Regions from separate parts of the Homo sapiens genome. Here all the other regions are linked to region 3. The links are contacts of gene promoters, found by promoter capture Hi-C in blood cells and fetal thymus (Javierre and others, 2016). All regions are on one chromosome and are shown on one strand. Each heading gives the region's core, a stretch centred on a gene start or on the middle of the fragment in contact. The rest is flanking DNA. Distances are from core to core; before and after follow the strand shown. Region 1 has its middle 71 kb from the start of ARL4C. Region 2 has its middle 53 kb from the start of ARL4C. Region 3 holds the start of SH3BP4 (SH3 domain binding protein 4).

What was found. Contacts are between HindIII fragments. The CHiCAGO score rates a contact against its expected background, and 5 or more counts as called.
Region 1: a fragment that was not itself captured here is called in contact with the fragment with the promoter of SH3BP4 in region 3 in 1 of 17 cell types (endothelial precursors); the score reaches 7.1 in endothelial precursors.
Region 2: a fragment that was not itself captured here is called in contact with the fragment with the promoter of SH3BP4 in region 3 in 1 of 17 cell types (endothelial precursors); the score reaches 9.9 in endothelial precursors.

Annotation. Positions count from the first base shown.
Region 1 is chr2:234,565,980-234,570,513 of GRCh38, reverse strand. No RefSeq gene overlaps it. Among named protein-coding and RNA genes, the nearest start is that of ARL4C, 71 kb to the right of the region's middle. The HindIII fragment of the contact is 5,682 bases long and covers 1-4,534 here.
Region 2 is chr2:234,547,300-234,552,187 of GRCh38, reverse strand. No RefSeq gene overlaps it. Among named protein-coding and RNA genes, the nearest start is that of ARL4C, 53 kb to the right of the region's middle. The HindIII fragment of the contact is 1,047 bases long and covers 1,031-2,077 here.
Region 3 is chr2:234,949,347-234,954,022 of GRCh38, reverse strand. SH3BP4 (SH3 domain binding protein 4) reads right to left here and starts at 2,006. Exons shown (of 6, transcript NM_014521.3): 1 at 1,853-2,006. LOC105373938 (a long non-coding RNA gene) reads right to left here. Exons shown (of 7, transcript XR_007088132.1): 4 at 4,238-4,437; 5 at 4,088-4,156; 6 at 2,672-3,425; 7 at 2,224-2,584. RefSeq lists an enhancer at 904-1,553. The HindIII fragment of the contact is 10,965 bases long and covers 157-4,676 here.

The sequences.
Region 1 (4,534 bases), core at 1,531-4,030, 380 kb after region 3:
CTAACACTAGATATCCATTGGTTTTGTCTGCCCGACATCGCTTCTCCTTTCTTTTGGTAGAGGAAAGTGTCTTCCCGTGGGGAACCCATTTCCTGTGGTTTGGGTGGGCTGGCTGTCATCCCATCCTGTTACAATGGTGGGACAAACCCCAGGCCTGACAATCAGAGCACCCCATTGCTCTGGCTGGAGTGATTGGCTTAGGGACAGGCATCCCACTCATGCTTGACTAGTGACATTCTTCCCCAAGACCTTCCCAGCAGATCTGTAGAGATAAGTGCTTTCTTTCTGCCTCTCAGGGTCAGACCTCTAAACTAATAGGACATGAGTCTGGGGCCTCCGGAAGCCACATGAAGACACTGGCAGAGAAATGGAGAGAGAAACAGAAATGTTATGATTTATTTTTAGGCCATGACCAGACTTTTTGATCACATAAACCGATAAATTGTCTTTTTGTGTCTCAGCTGATTTAAGTTAGTTCCTGTGACCAGAAACTGAGAAAGTTTCTCAATAGTGCAGCAAATGGAACCGTGGAACCACTGAAGAGGAGCAGCAGAAACTTCACAGCTCTTGGGTGGCAGCAGACTCAGATTTACTGAAGCAAGAAAGGGAAGACAGCAGCAGGAGGCTTGACAGCTAGCTAAATAGTTAGCCATGGAAAGAGCAGAAGAAGGAAGCTCAAGAAATCTCAGCAACAAACACTCATGGACTTTTTTCTAAAAATGGAAATTTAAAACTTTCTCGACCATGACCCACAAGAAATACATTTTACACGTTGCATCCAGGACATAGCAATATGCCTGTGAGCCACTTTGTGGTTGAAGGTTTCCATGTTGAGCTAGTTTCAGGAACATTGCCTCCTGTGTTCTCCTTTTGGAGATTCACCCATGGATTTACTGTATCAAAGTCTCTGAGAAATCTTATTCTAGCAATCCTGTTTCATGCACTATTTCTTAAATGTATTTGGTAGCAGTTAACTTGTTATTGCAAAAACAAAAATTATTGACTCCCTATTTTGTGCTAAATACTGGGCTCTGCACTGGTGAAACAGAAGAAAGCCATACACAGCCTGCCCTCACAACGCCTCCAGTCTCAGAGAATACTTAGTAATCCCTCATGATCTACACCTTGGAAAACACTGATTTAGTTTACTCCAATCCCCACTCCTGCATGCAGAATCTGGCCACTCTAGGCTTCGGTCTAGTTCAGCATATACTGCCTCTAGGCACAGATGACTGTGGACAGTTGAACAGGGTATGGGGGGAAGCATCATTGACACGATTGTCTATGTAAATGGCTCCTTTAGGGTTGTGCAGTGCCCAACACGCGCCATTGTCCTCAGTGTCTCTGCTTAGGGCTGATTTCTGGGTTATGCATTACTACTCAAGGCACAGACCCCACGTAACCCCACCTTGGTGGCAAGGTTTCCATCCTGAGTCACTCTTTCTTGTTCCAACTTTTTCCTTTGAATATGTTCAGACCTACAGAGAAGTTTAAAAATAATATAATGGGCTGAGGTAGGCGGATCATGAGGTCAGGAGATCGAGACCAGCCTGGCTAACATGGTGAAACCTCACCTCTACTAAAAATACAAAAAATTAGCCAGGCGTGGTGGCCCGTGCCTGTAGTCCTAGCTACTCAGGAGGCTGAAGCAGGAGAATCGCTTGAACCCGGGAGGCGGAGGTTGCAGTGAGCTGAGATCGCACCACTGCACTCCAGCCGGGGTGACAGAGTGAGACTCTGTTCAAAATAATAATAAGAAGAATAATAAAATGAACATTGCATCTTAGATTCACCAATTGTTAACATTTTGCCACATATGCATTTGACATTTGTGTGCATACACACATATGTGTGCACAGAGACAAAATATATTTATTGATGAATCATTTGAAAGTAAGTTGCAGACATTGTGATCTTTATCCCTAAGTATGCACCAGTCTCCAGTGAATAAGCGCCATCCACATGACCCCAGTACAATGATCCCACGTAAGGAGACTAACAAGAATCCCATGAAATCATCTGAAAGCCACTCCATGTTCAAGTCCCCATTGTCCCAAAAATATTTTACAGTGTTTTTTTAAATCAAGCATTGTATTTGGCTGCTATTCATCTCTATTTTAGAAAATCAAGAATAGCCACCTCATCTTTTGCTTTTCATACTGTTGACCTATTTAGAGGGTCCAGACCAGCTGTCATGAAGACGGCCTTCCTCTAGATTTGTCTGATTGTTTTCTCTTGATCAGATTCAAATACCCTGGCTGGCAACACTCCATTGGTGACACTGCTGTCTTCACAGGGCCCCACCCAGAGGCATGTATGCTGGGTGGCTGCATTCCATCACTCGACGAAGGAGCTGCTACAGAGCGTCTCCATCGGAAGCACATCCTCCCTCTGAAATCAGTGGGTAATGGTGGGATGATACCGTAAGAATGAGGACATTCCCTGTCAAGAGGCTGAATCCCTCATTCTCCTCCTTATATGGGTTTCTCAGGCCTCATTCTTGAACTTTCCCACATTGTCCTCACTTTTCCCTGTCCCAATAAGGGCATCTTATGTCTGGGTGTCATTTTCATCAGAATGCAAAGGTAAACAAGTGAGAAGCGTCTTTGTGTGGCTGGAGCTTAAAGGCTGCAGGTGGACCCCGATATTTGGTGGCCAAGATCACACACTGTGCTGAGGGTCCCGTGGAACCCTCGCCCCAGGATGCACACAGAGAGGCATGTAGCACACACTTGGGAAGCTGAAGAAGGGTTTTTGGAGGAAGTGGTGTCGAAGCTGACATTAGAAGGATGAGCAGCGATCCGGGGGCAATAGGAGAGAGAATGGGGTGGTCAGCATCACATGGGTGGCCCAGATGTGAAGAGAGCACACCCAACCCAAGGGCACAGGAAATCCAGTGTTGCTGGACATCAGGGGAGGAGAGGTGAAGGCCACTGCAAGGATTGGCAGGGGGTTGATAGCAGGGCTGATAGCAAGCGGTCTCATGAGCCACCAGCTGGAGTTTAAATTTGCTCACAAGATCCATGGGAGGAGCATTAAGTTTTATTAAACAGGACTGGTTGGGAGAGGGGCTGATGTGACATGATTGGCCCTTTTAAAGGAGCCCTGTGGCCGTATGGTGGTGGCTGGATTGCTGCAGGGGAACACGAATGGAGGCAGAGCTGCCATTTGGATGGATGTCTGTCACATTGATCCAGGGAAAAGACATTTGCATCCTGAACAATGACCATGCCAATGGGATGGAAAGACTGCATGGAATTCAGTGTGTTTTGGAGGAAGTCTTAATAGTGCTGGGTGCTTGATTGGATGAAGACAAAAACCTCAAGATTGATTATTTCCTTTTCACAATTTTTGTCTTGAATTAGGGTAAACTGTATCCAGGTGGGAAGAAGCACATTTGTCCCAGGGCAAAGGATTTTATGTGAGGTCTTCATAAGAACAGTACACCCTATGTTCGATGTGTTATTTCAGCAAGAACCCAATCTTATTACCAAACTAGGTGAACATCAACATGTTAAGAAACTTGACAGCACAAGAGGAATCTCTGTGCTGATGAAACAACTCTGTATCTTCATTGTGGTGGTGGGTGGGGGTATGAATCTACACATGTGCCCAAACCACACACACACACACACACACACACACACAAATAAGTGCTTGTGGAACTGGTGAATAAGGCCTGTGGATTGCACCAACACCAATTGCCTGATGTTGAAATTGTACTGCAATTCATATCGTGGAAATTGGACTGTAATCATATTGTGTTTGCATAGTACTGTGTCACACTGGGGGAGACAGGTGAAGGTTACATAGTACCTCTCTATACAATCTTTGCAACTTCCTCTGAATATCGAATTATTTTGAAATGAAAAGTTTGAAAAAATAAGAAACTTTGTGTTTAAAAAGAAAACAGACACAGCAAGATGTTGTGAAGTCTGCACCAAGGGTTCATGGGAGATGTTTTCACTCACCTTCAGTGTAGGAAGGAATATTACTGAACTGATGTCAGTCTGGTGCTAGCCATGCTTAAGCACTAAACCATCCAGCTCATCTCAACCTCAGATGTCTGGAATCCTCCACATTTTCACCCAGTGTCAGAGTTATTTAGGTCATTGTTCCCTGGTAACGCGGTTCCCTCCAGCAAGGTCATTGTTCTGTTCCCTGGTTAAGAAGGATCAAAGGGATAGACTGTCAATTTCCTCCGACTTCCCTATTCTCCTGTTTTGACTCCTTTCACTGTGAATAATGGAACAGAAACGGGACGGACATTTTTTAAAAGACGAAAACTACTAGCTAGGTTGCTATGCTGGGTGTTTGTGGAAGGCTGAGGGTACATGTTGTTGTTGATAGTGGTAGTGGTGAAGTTACACAGCAGTGGTCAAGTAAGCTAAGGCTAGGAAAAATAATTTGAACAAAAATAAAACTTTTTGGCTGGGCACAGTGGTTCATGCCTATAATCCCCAGCACTTTGGGAGTCCGAGGTGGGAGGATTGCTTGAGCCCAGGAGTTCAAAGACCAGCTTGGGCAACATCGT
Region 2 (4,888 bases), core at 305-2,804, 400 kb after region 3:
TCATTCTTGCTGTGTAGTTTCACACTTTTGTCTCTTTGGGGGCTCACTGTTGTTCCTTTCACTTCCTATCTTTTATAATTAAGAATATAATATTTAATATATAATATTATATTATTAATATTGATGTTAATATTATATGTATTAAGTATATCATATTTATTTATTTACATGAATTTTCTCTTGTATTTGAAAGAAGAGACATTCAGTTCTTAGTCTTTAATTTTTGGTTTACCAAGTTGTGTTTATCCCTATCGCTTAATTATCAGAGTTAAAAAAAAATGAGTAGGAATTTTGACTATGCCTTATCCATGGAAAGAACTGCCATCCCCTCCTTTATACCCCGATTTTTGTTCATTCGATGCTATAAACCAACAGTGTTGTTATAATTCCATTTTTTCTTATTTGTTATAGAAATATTCTTTTGTAAAAATAAATTGGCTGGGCGCGGTGGCTCAGGCCTGTAATCCCAGCACTTTGGGAAGGCCGAGGCGGGGGAATCACCTGAAGTCAGGAGTTCCAGACCATCCTGGGCAACATGGTGAAACCCTGTCACTACTACAAATACAAAAATTAGCTGGGTGTGGTAGTGCGTGCCTGTAATCCTAGCTTCTTGGGAGGCTGAGGCAGGAGAATCACTTGAACCAGGGAGGCGGAGGTTGCAGTGAGCCGAGATCACACCATTGCACTCCAGCCTGGGCAACAAGAGTGAAACTCCGTCTCAAAAAATTAAATTAAATTAAATAAATAAATTGAGGCCTTTACCATTCATATTAGAAACAGGATATCCGATGATGACTTGTGCTTCTCTGTCAAACTCCACTAGCAGCCCAGTGGATTTCCTCTTGGCCTGTGGATTTTCTCTCTGTTTTTTAGGTTCCTGGTGGTAGGGGCACTCTTGTGAATTTCTCTCTCACTCTCTCCTTCTTTTCTGTTTTCTTTCTGTAATGTCATGGCCACTTTTAATGGGACGTTGTGGATGAGTTCCCAGGAACAGCTAGGATGTCAAAACATGACTTCAGGGGCAGAAGCTTGTTTTCAGTGAGATCATACAATTGTGATCTTCAAAGAGCGTCCTGAGTCCTGGGTGCTTCCTGGGAACACTGTTACAGGCACCATCTTTGGAGTCCGGAAGACTTACTTGCTTTATCAACTCGAACAAGTTACTCTCTGGGCCTCAGTTGCTTCTTCTGCAAAATAGTGACTCACGGAACCCTTGTGAGAAAGGTGTGATTATCCATCAAAAGTGTCTGTAAGGCACGCGCTGGAGGCTAGCAGACAGCAAGGACTTGCAAATGAACTTACCCAGCCTGTGGTCTACCACAAGATCGTTTGACCTGTGTGCATTCTCAATTCTCCCATGAGATCGCTGTAACGTTTATCTGTGGTGGGTGGGGGATGCCGAAGGAAGTTTCTGGACCCAATTTCTTCTTTCTCCCTAACCTTATGATGATGCTGTGGGCTCTGCGCTCCCTCTAGTGGTGAAACTGAACACCTTCGCTATGAGAGCAGCGTCGTTCGGGGCTGAGATGGTTGTGGTCACGATGTGGGTTCCTCTCTTTGTTCTCCTGCCCTGGCTAGGGATGCAGTTGGCACCTTCCACTCTTGGAGAGTCTGAAGAATGCAGAAAAACTTCGGAGAATGTTCTGATCGCGGAATTTGTTAGGACAGAGTCTTACAAGAACTAATTTGAGGATTTTACACATCTGCATGTATCTTTGACCTTAAAACTCTATTAATTTTTCATCGCCCTTTTCCACACTAATTATACTTATCTTTGCAAGGGTATTATACTTCCTTCCAACAGGATTTCTTACTCTCTCAAGTGATTTTGATAATCTTCATAATCCTGTTAAAAATAGCCATAATTCGTTCAAGTATATGAGAGTTGAGTACGAAATTAGTTTGGCTGGTTGACTCACTGCATTTTAAACCCAAGGATATGGGAAGAATGTCTTAATAGAGCCATTTAAATTTTCAAGATGTGAACTTGAACTTACCCTCTGAAGTTGGGGTCTAAGTTAGACAAAGAATTCTGCTTTGTGTGTGCCTGAGCACGTGTGTGTGTCTAATTTAAGCTTTCCAAAACCAGGATCGAATTCCTGTCGGTGTCATTAGGTTGTAGAACTTACGTTAAATGTTCCCTCTTTTTGTCTTAGTGACGTCTGTGATGACAAAATAATTAAGATTGTGTCTCTCTTCATGGAATCAACCTAGATGTCCATCAATGGTGGACTGAATAAGAAAATGTCATACATGTACACCATGGAATACTATGGAGCCATAAAAAAGAGTGAAATTATGTCCTTTGCAGCAACATAGATGTGGCTGCAGGCCATCATTCTAAATGAAGTAATGCAGAAACAAAAAGGCAAATGTCACATCTCACTTACAAGTGGGTGCTAAACCTTGGTACACGCAAATATAAAGATGAGAACAATAGGCACTGGGGACTCCAAAAGGAGAGAAGGAGGGAGAAAGGGAGGGAGTGGGGAGAAAGGGCTGAAGACTTTCTACTGGGTACTACCCTCACTATGTGGGTGATGGAATCAATAGAAGTCCAAACATCAGCATCACATGATATATCCTTGAAACAAACCTGCACGTGTAACCCCTGAATCTAAAATATAAAACAATTTAAAAACTCTGTGTCTTTAAATGTTTTCCACCTGCACCTGAAAGAAGAAGAACCTACGCAACTTTGAATCATACGAAGGAGTAATAGAATCTTAGAGTTGAGCCAGAGATCTCAGAGGTCCTCGTCCACACACCTCCTGATGGAGAGATTCCTTCCATAGCAACCCTGAGAGAGGGCGGACTGACCTCAGCCAAATCCATCAGAATGCTTTTGTTTGCAAGACACAAAACGAGGCAAACCCAAACCATGTGACTTATCAGTGATGGGAACTCATTGACTCACTGTCTGCATCTCTATATTGGAGTATGAGAGGGGACCGGCCAAGAAGCCAGTACAGCAGCCAGCTGTTTGGGTTGCTAGGATTCCAGACCACATGTCCCTGGGCCCCAGGAGAGGAAGCTTCCCTCTCTCCCCAGCCCGCCCCCTTTCCAGATTGTAATGCTAATGATAAGCACAGGTGTGACAACATGGGTGTAAAGCCCCTCGATTTCTTTTTCAAGCAACTCAGACGTTACTAGAGTCTGTAGGAGAAGCACAGACCCATAGCCTGGAGAAGCCATGGAGGCCACAGGCTCAGGCTGCCCTTTTCTGGTGAAGTCATTTTCTTCTTCATAATATTCTTGCTGTAGCACAAACTCCTCCCGGGCCCTCCCCGCTGGTTTCCCCTAGACACAGCTCACTCAGCACCCTCACCGTCTGAATGGATGATTATCCTTTTGTGTGTAGTTTTTCTCAATTCTGACTTTGTTCTCATAGAGGAGGAGGCCTTGGCCAGGGCGAAGGGGTTCGGGAAGGCAGCCACGCCCTCGAGCGGGTGTCTTTAGCCCCTGCCTGGGCTCCCTCGACTGCTCCAAAGAATTCAGAACTGCCTGTTTCCTCTCTCTCACTCCAAAACACTGGTTTCTCTCTCCTCCAAGTCTGCCTGAGCTGCAACTTTTTCCCAAAGTTTAACAATTTAATTCCTTGATGCCTTTCTTCTTGTCAACGTTTATTTTGGGTTCAGGGGTACATGTGCAGGTTTGTTACATAGGTAAACTCATGTCACGACATCCGTTGCACAGATTATTTTATCCCCCAGGAATTAAGCCCAGTACCCAGTAGTGATCTCTTCTGCTCTTCTCCCTTCCCCCACCCTCCACCCCCAAGTAGACCCGTGTCTGTTATTTTCTTCTTTGTGTTCATGAGTTCTTATCATTTAGCTCCTGGATGCCTTTCACTCTTTCTTCCAATCACCCCTCCTAGTGGAAAGCCCAGAGGCCACGAGCTTTGGACGCTGTGGTCAGGTAGGCCAGTGCCCCCAGGGACCGCTCTGTGCCTCCCTTGGCCAGGGTTTTTATGGCAGCTGGGGCTGGCCAGCTCTTCCATCATGTGGGTGCCCCTGGGGAAACAGGGATTGGAGTGTGCTGACTTATACAAGCGCTGGGGAGCTAGCCACAAATGTCCACTATATCGCCCCCTTCTAGAAAATTTCCAGCAATGAGATCCTCACTGCCTTAGAAGGTGCCTGCTTCATGGTTGGTTGCCTTTCATTGGCACAGGCCTGGGAACCAGGCTTCCTGGGTTCAAATCCCAGCTCCACCAATTGGCAGCCCATAATATTGGGCAAGTTTCCTAAGTGCACTGGCCTCAGCTACCTCCTGTGGAAGGTGGAAGGTATAATTGTTCCACTCCAGCATTGCTGTGAGAATCAACAGGAGGACACACATAAGGCACCTGATGTGTTGCACCTGCTCAGTAACTGCTGTCTCTGCTTCCATTTATCCTCCAACACTCCTCCTTCTGCCCTTCAGCCATTCATTCTATTCCTATGACATGGAGGCCACAGAATCCGTCTACCCTTGCGTCTGTGTTTTCAGCATTTTGGGCAGCTCTCACTGCTTCAAAAAGAATTGCCCTTGATTCTTCCTCAGGCCAAACTGACTGCTTCTTCAACTTCTCCTGAGTTTACCTCACCTCCTCATACTGCCCCTTCTCACTTCCTTGAATCCACCTCTGCCTTCCCTGCTGTGCGCCCACCACACACAGCACGCCCTCACCACCCTGTGCACCGACCTTTCCTCCCTGGGCCCTTTCAGTTTGGCATGAGATGTCCTCTCTCCAGATCCTCTCCCCACTGCCCCCATCATCTCCCTGAATGACACCTGCTTTCCTCAGCACCTGATTTAGGTAACACCTCCTCCAGGAAAGCTGAATATCTTAAGACTAGTGAGGGCCAGGGCCTCCTCACCCCACTCCCTTCCTGCTTGCCTCTCT
Region 3 (4,676 bases), core at 757-3,256:
CACGGCCCGGGCATTCCACAGACCCACAAACATCAGGCAGTGGGCAATCTGGGGTCCCGCCTAAATATCACTGCCCCCTTACTTTAAGAAATCCGCCTACAAGCAGAAAGCAGAGGTGGAGGAGGGGGATTGGAGAGCGCTGCCTCTTCCCAAGCTTCCCACTCTGAGGGATTTGGCCGAGTCCCGAGGGCACTGAGCAAGGAACCAGGAATATTGTCCTCAGGGCTCCACTGGACATTCCTGGAGTCTGTTTCCTGGGCAGGACGGCCAGGTGAGAGGCAGCCTATTACACTGCATGACCACTGCAATGAGGAACAGTAGAATGTTCCCCAGCGCCTTAAAGTACAGCCGCTGTCCATCCACGGATGTCAAAACGCTCTGCAAACCACCCATTAATTTTTATGGTGGCTTGAGAAGCAGATTGAGAATCATTACCTTCATTTTTACAAGGCAAGGAACCAAAACCACAGAGGGCGGTGAGGATCCAGGCCTCTCCCATCATTTCATCTGGGCCACGGATCTCAAGGAAAGCCCCCAGCCCACTGGGAAGGGGACTCGTGGCCAGCAGAGATTCTGCCCGGGTAGGGAGCAAGGAAAAAACCCAAACTTTGGAGCTCAGAGACGGTCACAAGGGTGAGAAGGGGCGGCTGCATTCAGGGATTCTCTGGTTTAGGCAAGAATGGCTCCAGTTCTAACTTAATGTTCAAATCTGCCAGGCTGTGACAAGGCTGGTAAAAAATGTGGGATTGGGGATGGTTTCCTGTTTGCTGTTTATATTTCTCTTTATCTCTAGCTTTCTGTCCTGAGCATACATTGTTTCTGTAATCAGAACAAAAGTTATGCGAACTTTATTATTATCACGGATAAATTCTATAGTTCCAATCTGCCTACTAACTTGGAAAGAATAAGCAGGAATACAATCTCGCACAGTGTTCTTTTTCAGATCTCATCGATCCATCAGGCTCCACGACCCTCTGCTCGCTGAGTCCGGCGGCTCTCCCGCGGCTCCTCCCGCGCGGCATCTCTGGGCGCCCGACACCCGGTCAGGGCCAGCTGGGCCTGTCCCCAACCCCCGTCTACACCGCAGGCCCCGGGCTAGGAGCCGCGGGACCCAGGGTTGGGGTCCCAACTGACACCCGCCCGTGCCGCGGAGCGGGCTTCTCGGTAAACATCGCTCAGAGAACAACGCGCCTCTATCCCAGCCGGTCCCCGCCCGCGGGCCGCCGGCGCTGTCACCTCGCGGCTGCTCGGTCACCCGATCGCCAAGCCAGAAACCGGAGTTTTCAATTTCATCCTCACAGGAGGGATCTCCGAAGAAGTTGAAATATGCATTGTCACCAACAAGTTTAACCGGAGACCGCGCGTCCTTCCCTCCTCCCCAGCGCCGCTCGAGGGGGGCGCCCCGACCCCTCCACGCCCTCCCGTGGCCCCCACGGCCCCCGTGAGCCGAGCGCGCCCCCCGATTTGCGCCCGAGGACGCGTCCGGTTGCCCAGGGAGGCCACCCCGCAGGGCCGCCCGCCGGGAAGTGGCCAGAGCCGGGGTTGGGGGGCGGCCCGAGCGCACGCGGAGGGCTGCGGCTCGGCGCCCGGAACCCCGGGCCGGGTCCCTGCCCACCAGCACCAGGGAGACCCGAGCGCCCGGGGGAGCGGCGAGGGGCGCGCGAGGCTTCCCCGAAGCCGCCCCACGCCCAGGCACCCGCGCAGCCCCGAACTCAGGCGGCGGTGGCACGATCGGCGCCCGCGGCACGATCTGCGCCCGCAAGGGAGTGCAAAGCCCCCGAGCACGACCCCGCGCCCCCGCCGGCCCCCAGGGCCCTGCCGCCCGAGGCGCTCCCCGCCGCCGCCTGCCTACCTGGCTCGCATGGCGTCCCCGCCGGCTCCTGAGGCTCCGCTCGTCGGCCAGCGGCTCGGCCCAGCCGGGGGCGCGCGCGGCTCCGCGGGACTCACGGCGGCGGCGGCGGCGGTAGTGGCGAGGGGCCCGGACCGCCGAGAGTGCCGGGCGCGCTGGGCCCCCGCCTCGGCGGGCGGAGGGTGGTCCCGCGCCTGGGCGGGGGCGGGGGCGGGGGCGGGGGCGGGGGCGCGGGGGGCGGGGCCAGGACCGGAGCTGAGGCCGCGGAGGGGGTGGTCCCGCGCCGGGGCGGGGCTTCGGGAGAGGGGCGGGGCGGGGCGCGGCCGTCTGAGGCTGGCGAGCGTGGGGCGGGCTGGGGGTGGTGCCGCGGCTCCGGGTCCAGGCGGGTATCCAGTCTGGGCGCCTCCTCTTCTTCCTCCGCCCGGAGCCGGCCAGGGTAGCGGGGCCTTGGCCGCCCGGCATCCTCGGGTCTGGGTCCCCGGTACCGAGCAGGTCTGGGTGCTGGCCCGCGCTCCTGTGCCCCCCCGCACCCCCATCTCCCACCCCTTCTCCGGGAACCCCTAGCGAGGACCCCTGGGGCGGTGCGGTCCCCCCGCGAGCGGGCGTGGGCGAGGGTCGCGCCGCGTTCGGAGACGCTTTACTACACCTTGGCTGAGGACAGTGGAGGGAAGGCAGGCGCGAGGCTGCGGGGGCCGGAGCGAAAGTTACAAACTAACAACAGGGAAGGCAGTCCGGCTGAAAATCATAAAAGGAGGAGAGTTTCCTGCGAAGCGGAATGCAGATTGAAGGGCTCTGGTCGGAATCGTTTACACTTTGTCTGACCTGGGCGCCTCTGGGCCCCCGGCGCGTAAAACAGGCCTGGCACGTAGTAGGCGCTCCATCAATGCCCAGTGAGTGAACGCACCACTTAACTATGTGGCCAGCAACGTCTATGGACCGACACATCTAATCCTAAAAAAAAAAAAAAATCCCAATTTTGGCTAGTCCATTTCACACGAGTAAACTAGAGCTCGGAGGGTTGGTTCGCCACAGAGGAGAAGGGTAGAACCAGAATCTGAACCGAGGCCGACTCCAGAGGCTGGGGTCTAACCACTGCGCCACTGCCTGGGGCCCTCGGGACTGCGCCCACCCCCACCCCGGGAACCCGGAGCCCAGGAGAAAGCGCGGGTCTTTGCCGGGGAAGAAGCCAACATTTGTTGCTCCTGGTCCTGAGCGAGACACACACAGTCAGTCCTCACCATTAACCCCGAGGCAGATATTGTTATTGTCCCCGTTTTTATAGGTGGCTTGAGACGTGCAGCACTATGTTATGATCGCATGGGGCGTGCCAGAGTCTGAATTCAAACCGGGTATGTTCAGACTCCCGAGCCCCTGCGGCTGCCCCTAAGGCCTGCCGCTCCTGCCGTCTGGGAGACCTTCCTTTCCCTAAGGAATCTGGTTTTCTGCCACTCCATTTGAAGTCTGTGTTGAAGTTTCAGGAGACACAGGTGGACAGAGGCACCGACCTAGGGCTCGGGAGAAGGGTGGACATTGCTGTTCCGATTTTGGTGTCATCTGTGTGTAGATCATGGAATTCCTGAAAATGGATACGAGTATCCCTAAAATACATGCCGCAGATTTTGAAAGGAGGCAGTGAGGCGAAGGGGCAGGTGGAGGAAGCAGAGAAGCCTCCGAGCAGAGGAGAGTTTCTGGGTGGCTAGGAGGTCTGATTGGTGTAGGGATGTGTCTGGAGTGTGCTTGAATCTCTGGCAAGTTATCTCGCCTCTCTGTGACTCAGTTTCCTAAATGAGTGTAAAAATGAAAGGCAGCATGTAAAGTGCTCAGCAGACTGCCTGGCACACAGTAGCTTTCAGTAAGTTTTAGCTACTATTAGTACTGCTATCCCAAATGACATCCACACTGTGTTTTTTAAAAAATGCCTATAAAAACATTGAAAAAGACAAGCCAGTAGAAAATGGACAAAAGCTATGAAGGTAATTCCTGAAATGCCACAAATGGCTCAAAGCATGAAAAGCTCCTTGACTATACTAGTGAGGGAGCTAAGGCAAAACATACACACACAAAAAACAATCGAATAAGAAAACTCAAGGCCTGTCCAGGCAGCTCAGTTCACTGAGCAGAGAGGGAGAAAGATACCCTAAAAACCACAAAGAACAAAGTGCCATGGAAACGCAGAATAGAACATGAATAAACAAAGCATTACAGATTTCGCCTGGGGAAGCAGAGAGTGTGTCTTACGATGTCCACATATGTATGCGCAGTACTTGCTATAGTCATGCCTCAAGCATCCTCAAACCAGTCCACATCCTAGAGAGGAATTAACAGAGGTCAGAATGTTTAAACAAAGTGGTTAAAAAAAAAAAGAAAAAAAAAACAAGAACACATTACCTTATATTCTTACTACAGTAACTGGAATTCTTCTTCAGCTCCTATGAGCCAGGGAGACAACATTACTGGTTTAGATGTAAGTTGTTTATGAACTGTTTTCTTTTTGTATCCTGGAAGGCAGAAAGGTCTCTAGATGTTGCTTCCTGTTGAATGTGTGCTTTTTTTCCACCAGTTTTTGTTACTTGCTCTTCTAAAGGCCTCTGGATCAAAAGAAAAAAAAATGAGCTATTCATTCATAACATTCAATTATTCAATAAGCCTTTCCAGTGGGAACACATACAGCAAAATCAATAACTTGGGTTTTTATTTTTTTTTAGTACAGAGATAACACATTTGTTTCAAAGGATTAAAATGATTAGAGAAATGTGTAGAGTAAAAAGTAAGCATCGATCCTAAGTTCCTACCCTTTCCCAGATTCCATAGTTCACAGTGAATTATA